Linked DNA regions of Homo sapiens: all the other regions are linked to region 1. The links are contacts of gene promoters, found by promoter capture Hi-C in blood cells and fetal thymus (Javierre and others, 2016). All regions are on one chromosome and are shown on one strand. Each heading gives the region's core, a stretch centred on a gene start or on the middle of the fragment in contact. The rest is flanking DNA. Distances are from core to core; before and after follow the strand shown. Region 1 holds the start of ZFYVE9 (zinc finger FYVE-type containing 9). Region 2 overlaps ZFYVE9 (zinc finger FYVE-type containing 9). Region 3 overlaps ZFYVE9 (zinc finger FYVE-type containing 9). Region 4 overlaps ZFYVE9 (zinc finger FYVE-type containing 9).

The links. Contacts are between HindIII fragments. The CHiCAGO score rates a contact against its expected background, and 5 or more counts as called.
Region 2: a contact is called between a fragment that was not itself captured here and the fragment with the promoter of ZFYVE9 in region 1, in 1 of 17 cell types (endothelial precursors). The highest score is 5.1, in endothelial precursors.
Region 3: a contact is called between a fragment that was not itself captured here and the fragment with the promoter of ZFYVE9 in region 1, in 4 of 17 cell types (M1 macrophages, M2 macrophages, M0 macrophages and 1 more). The highest score is 10.2, in M1 macrophages.
Region 4: a fragment that was not itself captured here is called in contact with the fragment with the promoter of ZFYVE9 in region 1 in 3 of 17 cell types (M1 macrophages, M0 macrophages and endothelial precursors); the score reaches 6.1 in M1 macrophages.

What each region holds. Positions count from the first base shown.
Region 1 is chr1:52,139,512-52,144,188 of GRCh38, reverse strand. It overlaps ZFYVE9 (zinc finger FYVE-type containing 9), which reads right to left and starts at 2,100. Exons shown (of 19, transcript NM_004799.4): 1 at 1,786-2,100. It overlaps LOC107984956 (collagen alpha-2(I) chain-like), which reads right to left and starts at 4,470. Exons shown (of 5, transcript XM_047439476.1): 1 at 4,389-4,470; 2 at 2,900-2,996; 3 at 2,708-2,754; 4 at 1,786-2,412. The coding sequence starts at 4,470. RefSeq lists a silencer at 1,441-2,300. The HindIII fragment of the contact is 13,456 bases long and covers 1,411-4,677 here.
Region 2 is chr1:52,322,982-52,327,658 of GRCh38, reverse strand. The region is part of intron 13 of ZFYVE9 (zinc finger FYVE-type containing 9); the gene reads right to left. Among named protein-coding and RNA genes, the nearest start is that of CC2D1B, 41 kb to the left of the region's middle. The HindIII fragment of the contact is 6,065 bases long and covers 1-4,677 here.
Region 3 is chr1:52,301,129-52,305,805 of GRCh38, reverse strand. ZFYVE9 (zinc finger FYVE-type containing 9) reads right to left here. Exons shown (of 19, transcript NM_004799.4): 13 at 1,881-1,985. Among named protein-coding and RNA genes, the nearest start is that of CC2D1B, 63 kb to the left of the region's middle. The HindIII fragment of the contact is 3,144 bases long and covers 1,040-4,183 here.
Region 4 is chr1:52,281,380-52,286,056 of GRCh38, reverse strand. ZFYVE9 (zinc finger FYVE-type containing 9) reads right to left here. Exons shown (of 19, transcript NM_004799.4): 10 at 4,241-4,396. Among named protein-coding and RNA genes, the nearest start is that of CC2D1B, 82 kb to the left of the region's middle. The HindIII fragment of the contact is 3,481 bases long and covers 630-4,110 here.

The DNA.
Region 1 (4,677 bases), core at 851-3,350:
CACCACCATGCCAGCTAATTTTTGTATTTTTAGTAGAGACGGGGTTTCACCATATTGACCAGGCTGGTCTTGAACTTCTGACCTCATGATCCACCCGCCTCGGAGAGGGGCATCTTGCTTACGTTGCCCAAGCAGGACTGGAACTCCTAGGATCAAGGGGTCCTCCCCATTCAGCCTCCCTAGTAGGCCTAGCCATCACACTTTGCCTGAATTAGACTTTTAAAAATCGAGATTAACCTACCCAAATAACTGGTAATGAAGCCAATTTTTAAAAGAAATACTTAAAATCTGACAAAAACAATGCAAGGCTACAGCATCTAACACAGTAGGTCTTCAAAAACGTGTACCATGCCAAACTTTCTCCCTAGATGGAGACCCCATGCTGCATAGAAGGTTAAGTCAGGGATCTTTTAGGTAGTTACCCATATTCTTCTGTTTTAATTGATGAATTCAACATGGTTCCAATGTAATTTAGTAAAATATTTTTACAGGTCTTATACAAATGACAATGTAAAATGGAACAGTCAGATAATTTTAAACCTAATATACAGAAATAATAATTTTAAAAATCACTGTCAGTACGAGCCCATTATAAACCTGTACTGTTTACAATCTGTGAGATTATGGGTGATTTCTCCTATTATTAAATATTTATTAAGAGCCAACATGGTACCTTTCTATAATTCCCAAGTTTTCTACAATAAGCATATTTTTTCATGATTATAAAAGTTTTGCAAGTACCTATAAGTCTTATAACTTTCACATACATAACAGGAAAACAAGAATAACCTGTAATCACATTTCTCACAAAACATAAATATCTGACTTACGGTATCAAACTGTAATCAGTAGCATTTTCAACATTAATATCAGAACAAATCATTTTATTTCTAAAATTTAGCATGTATCCCATTTCCTTCAGGTATTTATTAGGGTAGCTGGCACTTAAAGAGGACTTAAAATCCTTTTGCCAACTATTCTCTGGATCTCTTTAAGTGGAACATTTTTGTACCGAACACTGAAGCATAAAAATATTTCTTCTGGCGGGGTGTGGGGGGCAGACCTTTGTAAAAGACGTTTTTATAACTGTGAGTGTTTATCTACAAAACTTAGCATCGCAAAGATGCGATGGGGCTTTCTCCAAGGCAGACCACGCTTAGAGGCAAGATATAATATAAAGAGGCAGGAATGAGCAACCGGCAGGTGATGAAATTTCACCTCAAATAAGACGCAAAAGGTTGTTCTCGAGCAAGCCAGATCCATGAATGACACTCCAGGAGTAGCAGGGGCTCTCTTGGTCCCGCACTCTCTGCACCCCCAATTCTCACCCTGGCCTTCCTCTCCTCCCCCTTTCCCCGCCACAACCGGGATTCTGAGGGACTCGGTATGGGACGCGTGGAAGCCAAAGCTTGTTTGCAAACAGGCGTCATCTGCCTCCCTCCGGGATGTACGTGCAGGGCCCGGGCTAAGAGGCTGCGCTCGGCCCGGGCCCATGCAAACCCGAAAGGCGGCCGTGCTCCTGCCGGCCCCCAGCTCCACACACCCGGCCGCGCCGGAACCGAGGCCGGAGCGAGGGCTTCCCAACGGCGCGGGGCCTAATCGCCCCCCACGGCCTTCAGCCTCCCGGGGGACGCGGGGAGAAAGGGCTGAGGCCCCAGGACCGCAGGGTGGGGGAGGCGACCGCAGTGGCAGGACGCCCCGTCCGCCCGGCCCGCGGTCTGCCGCCAGGGCCCCCACAGGCGGCGGGAGGCCGGCGAGCCCCGGACCACGCCGCGCCACACTCACCTCGAGCAGCGGCCGCCTCCGCTTCAGCATGGCCACGGGGGTCGTCCCTGAGCCGAAAGCCTCCTCCGGAGGGCACCGGCGCGGCCCCAGGCGCCGCCGCGAAACCTCCCACTCCTGTAGGAGCTGCGGTAGCCGCAGCTGCGGCTGCTACTGCTGCTAAGGCCCGGCACCCGCCCAGCCGCATCGGCGCCCGGGCCGCGGCAGCCACGCGGATCCCGGAGGAGCGCCGCCGAGCCGGGCCGGGGGCGCAAGGCTGCGGCGGGACGACCGAGGTGCGGCAGGCGGGGATCCTCAGCGAAGCCTCCAGCGTCGGGTGGCCGCTCCTGCCGCCGGCGCCGCTGGGCCACAGCGCCCCCTGGACCCCACGTCCGGCTACGGCGTCGGGACTGCGGCGGCCGCGCTGGGCACGAGCCGCAGGGAACGCTAAGGAGCGCGGCCTGGGGGCGGCGAGGGCCCCGTGCTCCCTGCGTAGCCCGCGGCCCGCGGCCGGCCCGGGACTCCGCTTCCCGGGAACCGGAAGCCCCTCAGTTCCCACCAACCCCTGGCGTTCCCCGCCCCCGCCAGACCCGAGCACCTTTTCGTTCTCTCCCGAAGATACGTGAACGTTCTTGTCACTCGGACCCGCACCTGAGAGCAGGAATATAAGGGAATCTCCGTTTGACTCTCACGGTTTCGGGGGTGGCAGGGAGACCCCCTTCTAATTCCTTTAATGCGTCTGGATGAAAGAAGAGTGACCCAGAACAAACCTTTTTTTCAAACATACACACTCGTCTCCCAAAACAGACGAAGGAATTGTCTTTGACCTTAACTTGTTTTTTTATCTACTGTGTAGATCATTAAGAAATTTTCTACAGATATCAACCAAACCCTTAACACCTAAACCACCACCCCCACAAAACAAAAATGAAAAAAAAATACATACATATATATATATGCCAAGCCAGAGAAGAGAATAGCCAACGGGTTGTCCTGAAATTCATAAACAACTTAAAGGTAAGCAAAGAATCACCCATCTTTTACTAACATCCTCTCCCTCCCAACCTCTTCTCTCCCACCTTTCCACCCCTCATCCCAGGCAAATCCTAGTAAGGCTCTGAAGGAAGGAAATTATTACACAGTGGGGGCTATGGAATCATTCTGTTTACAGATGCCCCATATTTGATCCCAGTCAGCCTCTAGGGTGCAAACATCAGAACCAAAAACAAACACGACTGTCAGAGGGGAAGTAGGGAAAGAAAATTCTCCAAATCCTCTGATCCCTAAATTTTCCAAATACACTTTTTTAACAGAGTGGTATACTAGAATGTGTAGTGATTTTGGTGTCAGACACATACCAACACTACCAGTTCCAGTTCTGTCATGTATATATAGCTTTATGACCCTGGGGAAGTTATGTAACATTTTTGAACTTCAGTTTTCTCCTGCCTGCCTTGCTGGTTGTTGAAGATTGGAGATAAAGAGACTGGCCCATAGAAGATACTTAATAAATGTTAGTTACAATTTTTATTGGTTCCAGTTCTTTTTCTTAGGCTCAATTTTGTACTCCTCTGTTTTTGTTTCTCATTCTCTCTCTCTCTCTCTCTCTCTCTGTGTGTGTGTATGTGTGTGTGTATGTGTGTGTGTAACTGTATTTCTGTCAAAAGATAGATGCTCCATTCTTCATCCTCCCTAGTCTGGGTGAAATTTCCCTAAATTTCACTAATGGGTTTATGTAACACCCCTCCATGGAAGAATAGAGCCTCATACACTGGATCCTATGACATTCTGTTGCACAGCAGATAGCAGCATGCAACCAGTATTTTTTATGTATAAAAAATGTTATAAGGCAATCTCACCTTACCTTAGGTTATGGCCTAATGATGATAAATAATAGAAACTACAAAAGGTCTCCAGGAATCATTCATTTAATAATTGAGCAGCCACCATGGAGAAGATGTCACCTAGTAGCTCTCTTAATGAAAGCTGTTCCTGCATAATCCTAAGTGTGCCTTTGCCACATACTCCTGAGTCACAAAAAAATCACTATGCCCTTTCTATAACAAGAGAAACTGGGGCTCAAAGGGAAACCATGATTCATCCTCGCAGTGATTCTATGAGTTAGGTCCTATGCTACCATTTTACATGTGAAATATATCCAACCTAAGGAAGAGCTGGAAGTAGACCCTGAGATTCCCTTCAGTCCCCAACCTGATGCCCCAACAGTCCTTTCAACAATATTAACAAAATGCTGTAAGGGTCATTTGTTGCTAAAAAATGTTTAGTCAAGGGAAAAGGGCCCTTCAACTGATTGAGATCATTAGCGCTGTAACCTAATATTAGCACTGTATTTTTCATGCCTAGATCACTGCCACCACAGGAAACCTGCATTTGTTTATGAATAATCATGCAACCCAGGGCATAGCTACTACATGAAGAAGATGATTCATTTGTTCCCAAGACCAGTTTCCTCTTGCTTCACACTTTCTCTCCTTGTTGCTGAAAGCAGCTGCCTTTATCATCACAACCTCCCCGCTGATCGGAGTAGTCCACTTTAAATCATTTCATCCTCTTCAATTTCATTCCATCGTTTTCAGTTTGCCCTCTGCTTCTAAAATGTCTCTCACCTGTTTTCCTCTCTTGTACTGTAAATCTCTTGTTCATTTTAATCTCCCTTGGGCTTCTGTCAATTGATTTGGCTACCCTCATCTCAATTTTTCATTGATTTCCCCTATTAGCTAGCAACCGTAAAATGTCTATTCCCAACCTGGTAGACCTCCCCACTTTCATTTTTATACTGTCTACATCCTGTAGAAAGCCAATATTCTAAGAATCTTTTTTCAACTGAGTTTAAGCACTAGCACCCCAAGCAAAATATTCTTTGCTCTTTAAAATTAGTTTTTAAAATTCAGGCCA
Region 2 (4,677 bases), core at 1,320-3,819, 180 kb before region 1:
CTGAAAAAGTAGTCCCCTGAAAATGCCAATTTCAGCATGAAGACTTTTTTTTTTTCTGAGACAAGTCTCCCTCTGTCGCTCAGGCTGGAGTGCAGTGGCACCATCTCGGCTCACTGCAACCTCTTGCCTCCCGGATTCAAGCAATTCTTCTGCCTCAGCCTCCCGAGTAGCTGGGACTTCAGGCACACGCCACCACGCCCCACTAATTTTTGTATTTTTAATACAGATGGGGTTTCACCATATTGGCCAAGCTGGTTTCGAACTCCTGACCTTGTGATCTGCCCGACTCAGCCTCCCAAAGTGCTAGGATTACAGGTGTGAGCCACCGCGCCTGGCCAGCATGAAGACTTCTTTAACCCCCAGTGAGACATTAATGTGACCATTACCTTCTTTGAAATGCCATAGCACATTCTCTGTACTTTTTATATGCCATCATTCACATTCAACCTTGAATAATGCTTAATTGCAAGACCAACAGTATTTTTGTTTGTTTATTTTTGAGACAGAGTCTCACTCTGTCACCAGGCTGGAGTGTAGTGGTGCAATCTCGGCTCACTGCAAACTTCGCCTCCTGGGTTCAAGCGATTCTCCTACCTCAGCCTCCCGAGTAGCTGGGACTACAGGTGCATGCCACCATGCCCAGCTAATTTTTGTATTTTTAGTAGAGATGGGGTTTCACCATGTTAGCCAGGATGGTCTCTATCTCCTGACCTGGTGATCCACCCACCTCAGCCTCCCAAAGTGCTGGGTTACAGGCATGAGCCACTGTGCCCGGCCTTGTTTGTTTTTGAGATGGAGTTTCACTCTTGTTGCCCAGGCTGGAGTGCAATGGTGCAGTCTTGGCTCATTGCAGCCTCCACGTCCTGGGTTCAAGTGATTCTCCTGCCTCAGCCTCTCAAGTAGCTGGGATTACAGGCACAGGCATGTGCCACCATGTCCAGCTATTTTTTTTTTTTTTTTTTTTTGGTATTGAGTAGAGACAGGGTTTCACCATGTTGGTCAAGCTGGTCTTGAACTCCTGACCTTAGGTGATCCACCCACCTTGACCTCCCAAAGTGCTGGGATTACAGGCATGATCCACCATGCCTGGCCTTCGACCAACAGTATCTGAATACTGGCCTTGCTCGTAACTATCTGTGTGTCTTTGGTAAACTTACTTAACCTCTCTGTGTCCCAGGACCCTCTTCTATAAAATGTGATAATAAAAGTAACTATTTCATAGAGTTATGAGAGTTAGATAAATTAATATTTACAAAGTGCTTAGGACAGCATCAAACATATAATAAGTACTCTTTTAACAAACAATTTGTTAAATAAAATTTGTATGCTCATCTTCCCTACCCTGCCTACTGAACCTTACAGCAACCTTAAAATCAGCAGCAAATAATTCAACCAGGTAGCTCCTATACCTCTTATAAGATAATGAAATTAAAGACCTTTCCTAAAAGTTTACAAATTATTGAGAATGACATACCAGTAAAAGGCAGAGAAACAACTGCTGTAACAACAGAATGTGCAAAGTACGTAACATTTCCAGAGCACCAACCATGAACCAGGCACTGAGCAAGCTGAGCTAAATGCTACAGGAGCATTATCTCATAAGAACCATTTTAGCACATCAAGTGAAACAGCACGAGCTTTACCTCCCGGTGTTTCCCACCCTTGGAGTCCCGGAAAAATCACAGGAGCCAATTAAAAGAACACAGTTCTATGAATGATTATGCTGCAGAAGTGTGTGAAGAGTTATAACACCTAATCCATCTTTCAGTTAACACATCATGTACTTCCAATTTCCTCTCTGAGATCTCATGTTTAAAAAATGACTAGCCTTTCGATTTGAACTGGAAAGGATTTATAGAGGAGTTTAAGCAGAGTGTTGAGGAGTGGATACAATTTGTATATGTGTTAGGCTTAGCATAGGGCCTTTGTCATGGCAGGCACTCCATAAATACTTGCTGAATATACTAGTTAGTAAACCGAATAAGTAGGAATAGATTTGGATGGCTTGTAATAGTCATAAAACTATACTGAGAGTTAATGTGGTTAGCACGATTTTCTTTTAAATCTTGATTCACTTGTAATTAGTGTCACATAGATTGGGTATCTAATAAAATAAGTTTCTGTTTTTGTTTTTATTTCTTGAGACAGTCTCGCCTTCTCGTTCAGGCTGGGGTGCAGTGGCATGATCACTGCTCACTGCAGCCTTGACCTCTGGGGCTCAGGTGACCCTCCCACCTCAACCTCCCAAGAAGTTGGGACTACAGGTATGTGCCACCACACCTGGCTAATTCTTTTATTTTTTATGTATTTATTTATTTATTTAATTTTTTAGAGATGGAGTCTCGCTCTGTCGCCCAGGCTAGAGTGCAGTGGTGCAGTCTCGGCTCACTGCAAGCTCTGCCTCCCACGTTCACACCATTCTCCTGCCTCAGCCTCACTGCAAGCTCTGCCTCCCGGGTTCACACCATTCTCCTGCCTCAGCCTCCCGAGTAGCTGGGACTACAGGGGCCCACCACCACATCCAGCTAATTTTTTGTATTTTTAGTAGAGATAGGGTTTCACCATGTTAGCCAGGATGGTCTTGATCTCCTGACCTCATGATCCGCCCGCCTCAGCCTCCCAAAGTGTTGGGATTACAGGCGTGAGCCACCACGCCCAGCCTAATTCTTTTATTTTTAATTTTGTATGGATGGGGTCTTTCTTACTATGTTGCCAAGGCTGGTTTCAAATCTTGGGGCTAAAGTGATCCTCCCTCCTCAGCCTCCCAAAGTGCTGGAACGACAGGCGTGAGCCACTGTACCCGGCCAAATAAAATAAGTTTTAGTGATTCAGTTCTACAAACATTATCAAGTGATTAACAAAGGCTTTAGACAGGAAGATCCAGTACAAAGGTGTGAAAAATCTATGAAAAGTGAACAACTACAAGGATACAGGGAAGCATGAAAGACTTACTCTCTGCCCTCAAGAGGCTCACAATTCAGAGGACAGGATTCACACCCATCATCCTGTGCATGTTACAGAAATAAAGAACAACAGGAAAATGGAGGAGAAAAACAGTGACACTGTCTAGGGGATGGAGAATTCTAGGGAGGTTTGCTAAAGGCTATCAGGTATATAAAAAGAATATTTTGGACAGAGGAAACAGCATAAGTGAGGAACAGAACTAGAAGTGAGAAAGAAACACTGAGCTGAAGAACGATGGAAAAGGTGGAAGAATATACTTTCTTGGAGTAATTTTAAGAAAAATGTAAATACGTACCCTTCCAGTTAGCTGAAATTCACTAGTGTCCAGAGGCTAGACCCCATCTTCAAGTCCTATGAATCTACATATTGACAACTATGAGTCTTCATTCAATCTGTTTTGTTTTGTTTTTGTTTTTGTTTTTGTGTGTGTGTGTGTGTGTGTTTTTGAGACAGGGTCTTGTTCTGTTGCCCCGGCTGGAGTGCAGTGGCATAATCATAGCTTACTGCAGTCTCCAACTCTTGGGCTCAAGTGAGCCTCCCACCTCAGCCTCCCAGGTACACAGACTATAGCTATGTACCACTATGCCCAGCTATCTTTATTTTCATTTGTTTTTTTGTGGTTATTTTTTTTTTTTGAGACTGAGTCTTGCTCTTGTTGCCCAGGCTGGAGTGCAATGGCACAATCTCAGTTCACTGCAATCTCCGCCAACCAGGTACAAGCAATTCTCCTGTCTCAGCCTCTCAAGTAGCTCAAATTACAGGCATGCGCCATCACGCCTGGCTTTTTTTTTTTTTTTTTGTATTTAGTAGAGACGGGGTTTCACCACGTTAGTCAGGGTGGTTGTGAACTCCGGACCTCAGGAGTGATTCTCCTGCCTCAGCCTCCCGAATAGCTGGGATTATAGGCATGTGCTGCCATGCCCGCCTAATTTTTGTTATTTTTTGGTAGAGATGGGTTTCACCATGATAGCCAGGCTGCTCTCAAACACCTGACCTGAAGTGACCCTCCCTCCTTGGCCTCCCAATGTGCTGGGATTACAGGCATGAGGCAAAGTGCCTGGCCCTCTGGCCTACTTTTATTTTGTAGAGCTGAGGTCTCACGCTATGTGCCCAGGCTGCCTTCACTCATTCATTTAGAAAATACTTATTCATTTAGCCAATGGGCATTGAGTATCTAATACGTGCCAGACACTGTTTTAGTGCTTGCTTTATTCAGTAGTAGACAAGCAAACAAATTCCTGCCCTCACAGAGCTTATATTCTTGTGTGTAGGAGGAGGAGACAAAAACAATAAACAAATAAGTAAAATACATAAAACTATTATACAATGACAAGTGCTACAGAGAAAAATAAAACATGGAAGGAGGACTGGGAGTATTGGTGGGTACAATTTTAAATAGGAGAGTCAGAGGATGTCTTACTGAAAAAAGTGAGGGAAAAGCCAAAGGCTTTTATCCCACTGCATGGGGATACGTGCAAGGCCCTGGAGGGCAGTAAGGTAGCATGCCCTGGAATTTCAAGGAACACTGAGGACAGTGTGGCCAGAGCTGAGTGACAGAAAAGGAATAGTTATAAAAAATGAGGTCACAGAGGGCCGGGCGTGGTGGCTCACACCTGTAGTCCCAGCACTTTGGGAGGCCAAGATGGGCGGATCACGAGGTCAGGAGATCAAGACCATCCTGGCTAACACGGTGAAACCCTGTCTCTACTAAAA
Region 3 (4,677 bases), core at 1,362-3,861, 160 kb before region 1:
CATTTCCAGGGCTGTAAGGGAGGGGGGCCTTCCCAAGCACGAGGATGCCTGGGTCCGTAGCCACAACTCGGGTAGCTACAGCTGTGCCTGCAAGGGGGGAGCTCCTGCCTGCTCCATGGAGCAGAAGGCCCAGGTCTGCAGCCATAACTTGGGCAGCTGCACCTTGGGAGGCCCACCCCACCAACTCGGAAGGGGTGGGGCTCCCACTTGTCCCCGGCTCCTACAGGCTCCACGGAGTATGCAGCCCTGGCAGCACCACCCTGCTGCAGCCAGCATGATGGCAGCAGCCACTCCAGACAGGCCACTGATGCCATCATTTTCCTGGACAGCAAACGCTCCGAAAGCAGGCATAAGGTTTTTGTTTGTTTGTTTTTTTGAGACAGAGTTTTGCTCTTGTCGCCCAGGCTGGAGTCCAATGGTGAGATCTCAGCTCACTGCAACCTCTGCCTCCCATGTTCAAGCAATTCTCCTGCCTCAGCCTCCCGAGTAGCTGGCATTACAGGCACCCAGCCAATGTTTGTATTTTTAGTAGAGACGGGGTTTCACCACGTTGGCCAGGCTGGTCTCAAACTCCTGACGTCAGGTGATCCACCTGCCTTGGCCTCCCAAAGTGCTGGGATTACAAGTGTGAGCCATCGCGCTTGGCCAGCAGGCCTAATGTTCTTATCTCATCTTTATATTTCAAATCACAGAATATATTTAATACATGTTTGTGAAATAGACAATAATATTTCAAATTTGAGAAATAAAATAGGTTTTCAAAGCACAATCTCTTTTAAAATTCTTTAGGCCATGAAAGATTGCATTACTGCACTCCAGCCTGGGCAACAGAGCAAGATCTGTGAACTACAAATAGTTCACTTTAAAGATTTGACTCTACCTAGTCTCATCGATTACTCCTTGATACTCCAAGGCAGGATTATCTAAATGCTGAAGACTGCTAGTTGTATCCCAGAAAAAAGTAAGCACACATTCTAGCTACTATTTTCTAATATCCTTAAAAAAAAAAAAATCACGTGGAAAGTCATGGCTAAAAGCTTTCTTCACAGAGGTCATTCTCATAATAATGCTGAGAACTGAGCTCACAAATCCAATAAAACATCTGTGTGATTCTACGTGCATACCAAGTACATAATGTTTATTCAACGCATAAATGATTTAGTGGCTAAATGAAGAAAAAATGAAATGAAAAAGGAAAAAAAAAGGAAAAAGGAAGGAAAAATTATTTTATACAAAGAAACCCGGCTGGGCACAGTGGCTCGTGCCTGTAATCCCAGCACTTTGGGAGGCCGAGGTGGGTGGATCACCTGAGATTAAGAGTTTGAGACCAGTCTGGCTAACATGGTGAAACCTCGTCTCTACTAAAAATACAAAAATTAGCCAGGCATGGTGGCGGGTGCCTGTAATCCCAGCTACTTGGGAGGCTGAGGCAGAAGAATCACTTGAACCCAGGAGGCAGAGGTTGCAGTGAGCTGAGATCACACCATTGCACTCCAGCCTGGGCGACACAGTGAGACTCCATCTCAAAAAATAAATAAATAAATAAATAAATATTTATAGTAGGAGTGGGGACATTTTAAAAATCTCACCACTAATATTACAGATACAAGGCTAATTTCATGACCTAATCAAAATGCAAATCTAATACTAATTATCATAACATCAAAAGGTAAAATGACACATCCAATGAACCACTAGGTCAGAAATTTGACATCTTGTCTTCCTGTAATGAAATTCCCCATAATTGAACTAAGCCATACAATATTATTAACTGATTTCATTGTTAATTAATTATAAGTAAAATTTATATATAATCATGCATTTTTCACCTTCACTCATGTTTTCAACTATGAAAAATACGCCTTCATGGTAAATCTTACCTCATTGTATCTGTTGCTGGGAATTTTGATGCTAGTTTTCCGAACTTCCATATCAACCACCAAACCTTGAACTACTGGCAAGGTATACTGGTAATTTCTGAAGTCCTGGGCCAAAGCAGATTGAAGCAGAATAAATTAATTCATCAATGGTAGGGTTTAATTTATAGTAATAAAATTAACACGAATGGAAAAAATGTCAATATTGAAAGATCCTATTTATTTAAATAATAAGGAAATGTATAATGAAAGCCCCACTATATGTATTTTAGCTCTTTAGTCTTTAAACTCTTATAAGTAAACCAAACATTATCATATACCTCTTATACACAACATTAAAAAATATTTTTGAATGTCTACCCTGCTTTACCACCACTTAACATTTTCTGTATTTATTTGTTAACTATCTGTCTCCTCCCTCTGAAGCTCCAAGAGAGTACAAACTCTCAGTTGTGTTGTTCTTGCTATATCCTTAACGCCTGGAACATCTTAGGCACTCAATGAATATCTGTAAGGAAACACACACACACACTAACACATCATCTATCCAGTATGGGTGAAACAAAATGAACAAGAGTGGTGGACTCAAGGTCAAAGTAATAGCAAATGGCTAGATTTCATAGGTTCTTATAGGTCACCGTGAGGACTTTTGCCTTTAGGAGGCTTTTGACCTGTTTTAACAGATCTGACTCCTTGGTAATGAATAGGTGGTAAGGGAGGAAGAATGGAAGAAAAGATCAGATAAATACCATAAAAACAATCAAGGTAGGAGATAGTGAGAGCTTAGACCAGGATGTTAACAGTTTATTTATTTATTCTGAGATGGAGTCTCACTCTGTTGCCCGAGCTGGAGTGCAGTGGTGCCATCTTGGCTCAGTACAACCTCCGCCTCCAGGGTTCAAGCGAGTCTCATGCCTCAGCTTCCCAAGTAGCTGGGATTACATATGTGCGTCACCATGCTCGGCTAATTTTTGTATTTTTAGTAGAGACAAGGTTTCACCATGTTGGCCAGACTGGTCTTGAACTCCCAACCTCAGGTGATCCACCTGCCTCGGTCTCTCAAAGTGCTACAATTACAGTCGTGAGCCACTGCACCTGGCCAGGATGTTAACAGTTTAAAAAGTGATGAGAAGTTGTCAGTTTCTAGATATATAGATACAGATTTTTTTTTTTTTCCTGAGACAGAGTCTCGCTCTGTTAACCAGGCTGGAGTGCAGTGGCGCAATCTTGGCTCACTGAATCCTCTGCCTCCCAGGTTCAAGCAATTCTACTGCCTCAGCCTCCCAAGTAGCTGGGATTACAGGAATGCACCACCAGGCCCAGATAATTTTTGTATTTTTAGTAGAGATGGGGTTTTGCCATGTTGGCCAGGCTGGTCTCAAACTCCTGACCTCAGCTGATCCGCCCACCTTGGCCTCCCAAAATGCTGGGATTACAAGTGTGAGCCACTGCGCCCAGCCTGTTTCCAGACATATTTTAAAGGAAAATCTGATAATATTTGCCACTGTGGATGTGGAATGTGAACAAATGATAAAAGTTAAAGATGATTCTAAATTTTATAGCCAGGGCTACTAGAAGACTGGAACTGCCATTTACTGAAATGTAGAATATGATGTGAGATGGAGGGTTTTTCTAAGTAACTTGACTTCATTACTTGCAAAAAAAGCTCAAGAATATTGATAACCAGCACCCAACTGGTAAAATCAGAATGTCTGGCAACCAATAAAAAAATACCAAACATTCAAAGAAGCAGGAAAATACAACTCAAAATAAAGGAAAAAAAATCAATCCATGGAAACGGAGCCAGAACTTATACAAGAAGTTAGAATTACTAAAGGCATTACAATAGTTATTATATTGTATTCTACATGTACAAAATGTTAAGCAGAGACATAAAAGATCTTAAAAGACCCAAGTATAACTTCAAGAGATGAAAATCAAAGTATTTGATTGAGATTGTTTAAAAGATTGATAGAATTAACAGCAGCTTAAACCAAAATAAAAGATTAGTGAAATTGAGAGCACAGCAATAAAATTCATCCTAAATGAAAACAAGAGACAAAAAAGACTGAAAAAGAAATAAAAAGAACATTAGTAAGACGTGAAACAATTTCAAGCAGCCTGATATATATGTAATTGGAGTAATCTCCTTCAGGGAGAGAAGGGGATGAACAGAAAAAATATCAGATGAAAACTATAAACCCATAGATTCAAAAAGCTCAATGAACCCCAAGTACGGGAAACATGAAAACTACACTATGGCACATTATAATCAATTTGCTTCAAACTTGTAATTTTAAAAAGCTTTTGAAACTAGCCAGAGAAGGTCAGGCACAGTGGCTCATGCATGTAATCCCAATACTTTGGGAGGCTGAGGTGGAAGGATAGCTTGAGCCCAGGAGTTGGAGACCAGTCTGAGAAACACTGCGAGGCCTTGTCTGTATAAAAAATAAACAAAATTAGCTGGGCATAGCGGCACGTACCTGTAGTCCCAGCTACTTGGTAGGCCAAGGTCGGGGGGATCACCTGAGCCCTGTGGGTCAAGGGTGCAGTGAGCCGTGATTGTGCCACTGCACTCCAGCCTGGGCAACAGAGTGAGACCCTATTTCCAAAAAAAAAAAAAAAAAAAAAAAAAAAGATGGAAAAAGAAAAACAACGTTAAGAAAAGAAAAAATTGTTATGTAGAGAGGAACAAAGATGAGAGGGAAAACAATGCAAAGCAGAAGACAGTGGAGCAACATCTCAAAAACACTCAAAGAAGAAAACTCGGGCTGAGCATGGTGGCTCACACCTGTAATCC
Region 4 (4,677 bases), core at 1,121-3,620, 140 kb before region 1:
AGCCTCCCAAGTAGCTGGGATGACAGGCGCCCACCATCACACCCGGCTAATTTTTTGTATTTTTAGTAGAGATGGGGTTTCACCATGTTGGCCAGGATGGTCTTGAACTCCTGAGCTAAGGTGATCCACCCGGCTTGGCCTGCCAAAGTGCTGGGATTACAGGCATGAGCCACCGTGCCCAGCCTGCTATCATTTTAGAACAGTAGCCTCCAACCTTTTTGGCACCAGGGATGGGTTTTGTGGAAGACAATTTTTCCACGGACTGTGGGGAAGGGGAGACGGTTTCAGGATGATTCAAGCGCATTAAATTTATTGTGCACCTTATTTCTATTATTACATTGTAATATGTCATGAAATAATTATACAACTCACCATAATGTAGAATCAGTGGGATCCCTGAGCTTGTTTTCCTGCAACTAGACTGTCCCATCTGGGGGTGATGGGAGACAGTGACAGATTATCAGGCATTAGATTCTCATAAGGAGCACACAACCTAGATCCCTCACACGCGCAGTTCACAACAGGGTTCGCACTTCTATGAGAATCTAATACCGCTGCTGATCTGAGAGGAGGCAGAGCTCAGGCGCTAACGTGAGCAATGGGGAGCAGCTGTAAATACAGATGAAGCTTTACTTGCTTGCCTGCCCCTCACCTCTGCTGTGTGGCCTGGTTCCTAACAGGCCACGGACCAATACCAGTCCATGGCCTGTGGGTTGGGGACCCCGTTTTAGAACACCCAAAATATGCTTTTACTTATTAAAAAATTTATAGTGAAATATATCAAGCTATTACCCTGATTATCTAAAAATAAGGTTCTTAATAAATATGTATAGTATATAGATAATATATCTGTGTTTTTAAGAACTGATATATTATTAATGGTACACAGAGGCAACTGACATAATGTAAACAATACTGATCTGGGAGCTACAGTCCCAATTCTGCCACCAACTTGGTCTGTGATTTAGGTACGCCATTAACACTTCTAGGTCTGATTTTCCTTATCTAAAAAATGAAGAGTTTGTATTAAATTATCTAAAATGCCTTCTAGTCCCAATATTTGATGAGTTGTGAAATGATTCCTATTCAAGGAAAAACTCTTTCGTCTCACTTATGCTTTTGAAATGTTATTTCCTTAGATATACATATATATGTTCGTGTCCCTATCCTACATTATAGAAAATATTTTTAGTTGGCTTAGATGTATTATAGTCTGACCTTAGACTATCATTAGTATCTTGTAATCAGTTCCAAGTATTTTTGTTGTTTCAAAATTTTTGCAATAGTTCAAAATGGACTGAACTGACATATAAGTATCCTTTTTAAAAAAATAACCATTGCTGGGCGCGGTGGCTCACGCCTGTAATCCCAGCACTTTCGGAGGCCGAGGCGGGCGGATCACGAAGTCAGGAAATCAAGATCAGCCTGGCTAACACGGTGAAACCCCGTCTCTACTAAAAATACAAAAAATTAGCCAGGCGTGGTGGCGGGCGCCTGTAGTCCCAGCTACTTGGGAGGCTGGGGCAGGAGAATGGCGTGAACCTGGGAGGTGGAGCTTGCAGTGAGCTGAGATAGCGCCACTGCACTCCAGGCTGGGTGACAGAGCGAGACTCCATCTCAAAAAAAAAAAAAATTTATGCTAAACATATTTTAATAATTCATGCAATAATTCACATCCTCTCCTTGAGAGGATGTCTATCTCTCAGGATTCCATCTACAGCCGTAGTCTCTTCACACAGGCCTATCCCATTCACAACGATACTCTCAACTATCACAGGAAAGCTGTGTCTCCAAAATCTGTATTTTAACTCAGATCTATCTTCTGGGATCCATACCCATATAATCATCTGCCATTTTCATGTTTCATCTGATGTCATTATTTCAAATTCAGCACACTGAACAAAGAATTCCCTTACCTCTGCCAAATCTGTTATTCATCAAGATGGTGAATAGAAGAAGACCAACATACACTTAGGTGCTCAAGCGAGGAATCTGAGGCCAACCTTGACTTGTCCCCTCTAACCCCCTATATCCAGTTAGTTACCAAATCCTACTGAATTGAAGCACCACATCTTTCGTATCTCTCCAATACTCTTCTTTATTTCCACTGCAATTATTTAATTTAAATCCTGATAATTTCTTAATTTCTTGCTGGATTCCTGCAATATCTTTTTAAAAAATAAATTTTACTGAGGTATAATCTATATATTATAAAAATGATAGATTTTAAGTGTACATTTCAATGAGTTTTGGCAAACACCCACATAACCACTATCCTAATCCAGATATAGACCTCTCATCTCAGAAAGTTTTCTGGGACTCTCTGTAGTCAGTTCTAGCACCTGCACCCCCACCTCACTTTAGGCAAACACTGACCTAATTTCTATCACCAAAGATTAATTTTGCCTGTTTTAGAAAACCATATAAATGGAATCATCCAATATGTACTTTTTTGTGCCTGGCTTTTGCTCAGCATAATGTCTGTGAGATTCATGCATGTTGTTGTGTACATCAGCAGTTAGTTCATTTTTACTGTTGAGCAGTATTCTAGTGTATGAATATACATTTGCTTATCCTGAAATTGCTTCTTAACTGCCACCAGACTCACGGACTTTGATCCATTTTTCACACTGCTTCCAGAGTCATCTTTCTAAAATGCAAATCTGATTATGTCACTCATCATCTCAAATACTTTCAATGGTTCTTCATTGCCTACAGAATAAAGCATGGGCTCCTAAATAAGACATTCATGAACCTCCCATACCCTAGTCTCTAACACACTCTCAAAACCCACATGAATCTACAATTACTTGAACCTCCAATGCCATTTTTCTAGAGTGTTTAAAAGTGAATACATTCAGATTGAGGAGAAAAGTGAAAGTTCCCAGTTATTTCCAGGACTAAATTCAGCTCCAGGGTATTATGTGGCCTGGAGGACCTGGATGATTTCAGATTTAACCCTATACATTTTGGAACAGACAGGGTAAACATTAAAAGGTACTTCACAGGTATCATGTGGTCAGTTTCCAATGTATCACCTTGCCCTTATGTAATGCTACACCTAAATTATTGTAGAGACTAATGAAGACATAAAGGCACAATCTTTTACGCATAATCTACATCACATTAAAAATACAATTATATATCCTGCTTCTGTAATTATTTAAAGAGCATTTTCCATGTTACTACATTCTTTTCATAAATATTGTTTTAATGGCCAAAAAAAGTTCTCAAAAAGATCCTCACATCTAATAAGTATAACACAGTTAAACTTTCCACCTATAGCTAAGGCATTCAGGTTGCTTCTGAATTTTTGTGTTAAATTTAGGTAATGTTGCAATAAACCCTTTCATTCACAGAAGTGCATTTTATATTCTGGATACTGTCTTTGGCACAGAATCCCACAATGAAAATTATTGCATTAAGAAAGTCTGAATAATTTATTGTTTTAATATATGTATGAAATATTATCAAATAATACATGAAAATAGTTTTAATACCCCGGTCACCCTCACACCCTCTCCAGGCCTTCTTCCTCAAAGATAAACCCTATTTATCAAATACAGATATTATGTACTGACTTCCTGTTACAATAAACGAGAATAGTTCAATTACACCGTTTTTCTACCTCATTTGTTAAATCAAAGGGAGGCTGACTTTGTAATGTCAAATAACACAATGTCATAATAAATAACTATAATGTCAAATAATGTGTTTCTTTTCTCTCAATCTTAGTTTCTTTTTATGTTAATATCCTTAGTCTTTCCCAGCTTCTAACCTCTATGCTTTTACTTTTAAGTTGTTACAGTTAATATTTACAATTTATTTTGAAGCCATAGTCATGTATGCTAATTGTTTTTGAAATTTGAATATTCATTAGCATTTACACTATGATTAAATAAATATTGTTAACCAAAGAAACAAGAAGTAAGTTACAAATATGCTTCCTTCTACCAGGTACCAATATCCTGACCCCAGGCCACTAAAAAGAAAATATTCTTACATTTAGGTCACCAGATTCTCTTACAGCTTTGATTCCAGCCTCTGTAAAATAAAAACTATACCAGGTACAATACTAAAATTTATAATTTCTTCAAACCATGGAAAGCTTCAACTTGCCACTAATATCAAAGTCCCCTGCCATGCTTAAGTCCAAAGTTAAGACTATTATTTTGTATTTGAATTCAAAATTTTTTTGTCATCTACAAAGGGAGCAGACTAAGTCATAAAGCATTCCTACCTGCCAGAGCATCCCGATAAAGCTGCACAAAGTGATTAAAGATATCCTTTGGCAAACACTTTTCATCCGGTAAACACTGTAGAAGAATGACTATCTCAGACTGACCCACTGCATGCATTCCCTTGGTTGTGAAACACCAGCACTTCCTGTTCACATCTACAGATGGAATAAAAACACAAAAATAAAGACATTCCTATCAATCCTTACTCTTAAAAAAAGATGCACAGAAATCTGTGTTACAATACAGCAAAGATTAAAATAGATCACACTGAGTCTGTATAATTCAACTGTGAACTGTCACTGCATTGAGCCAAAAACCTATTGTAGAAAATAAAACATGCCAATGCCTCTGGCTCTTTTCTAAACACTTGGAAAAATGATTGAGGACGGCCGAGGTGGCTCACGCCTGTAATCCCAGCACTTTGGGAGGCCGAGGC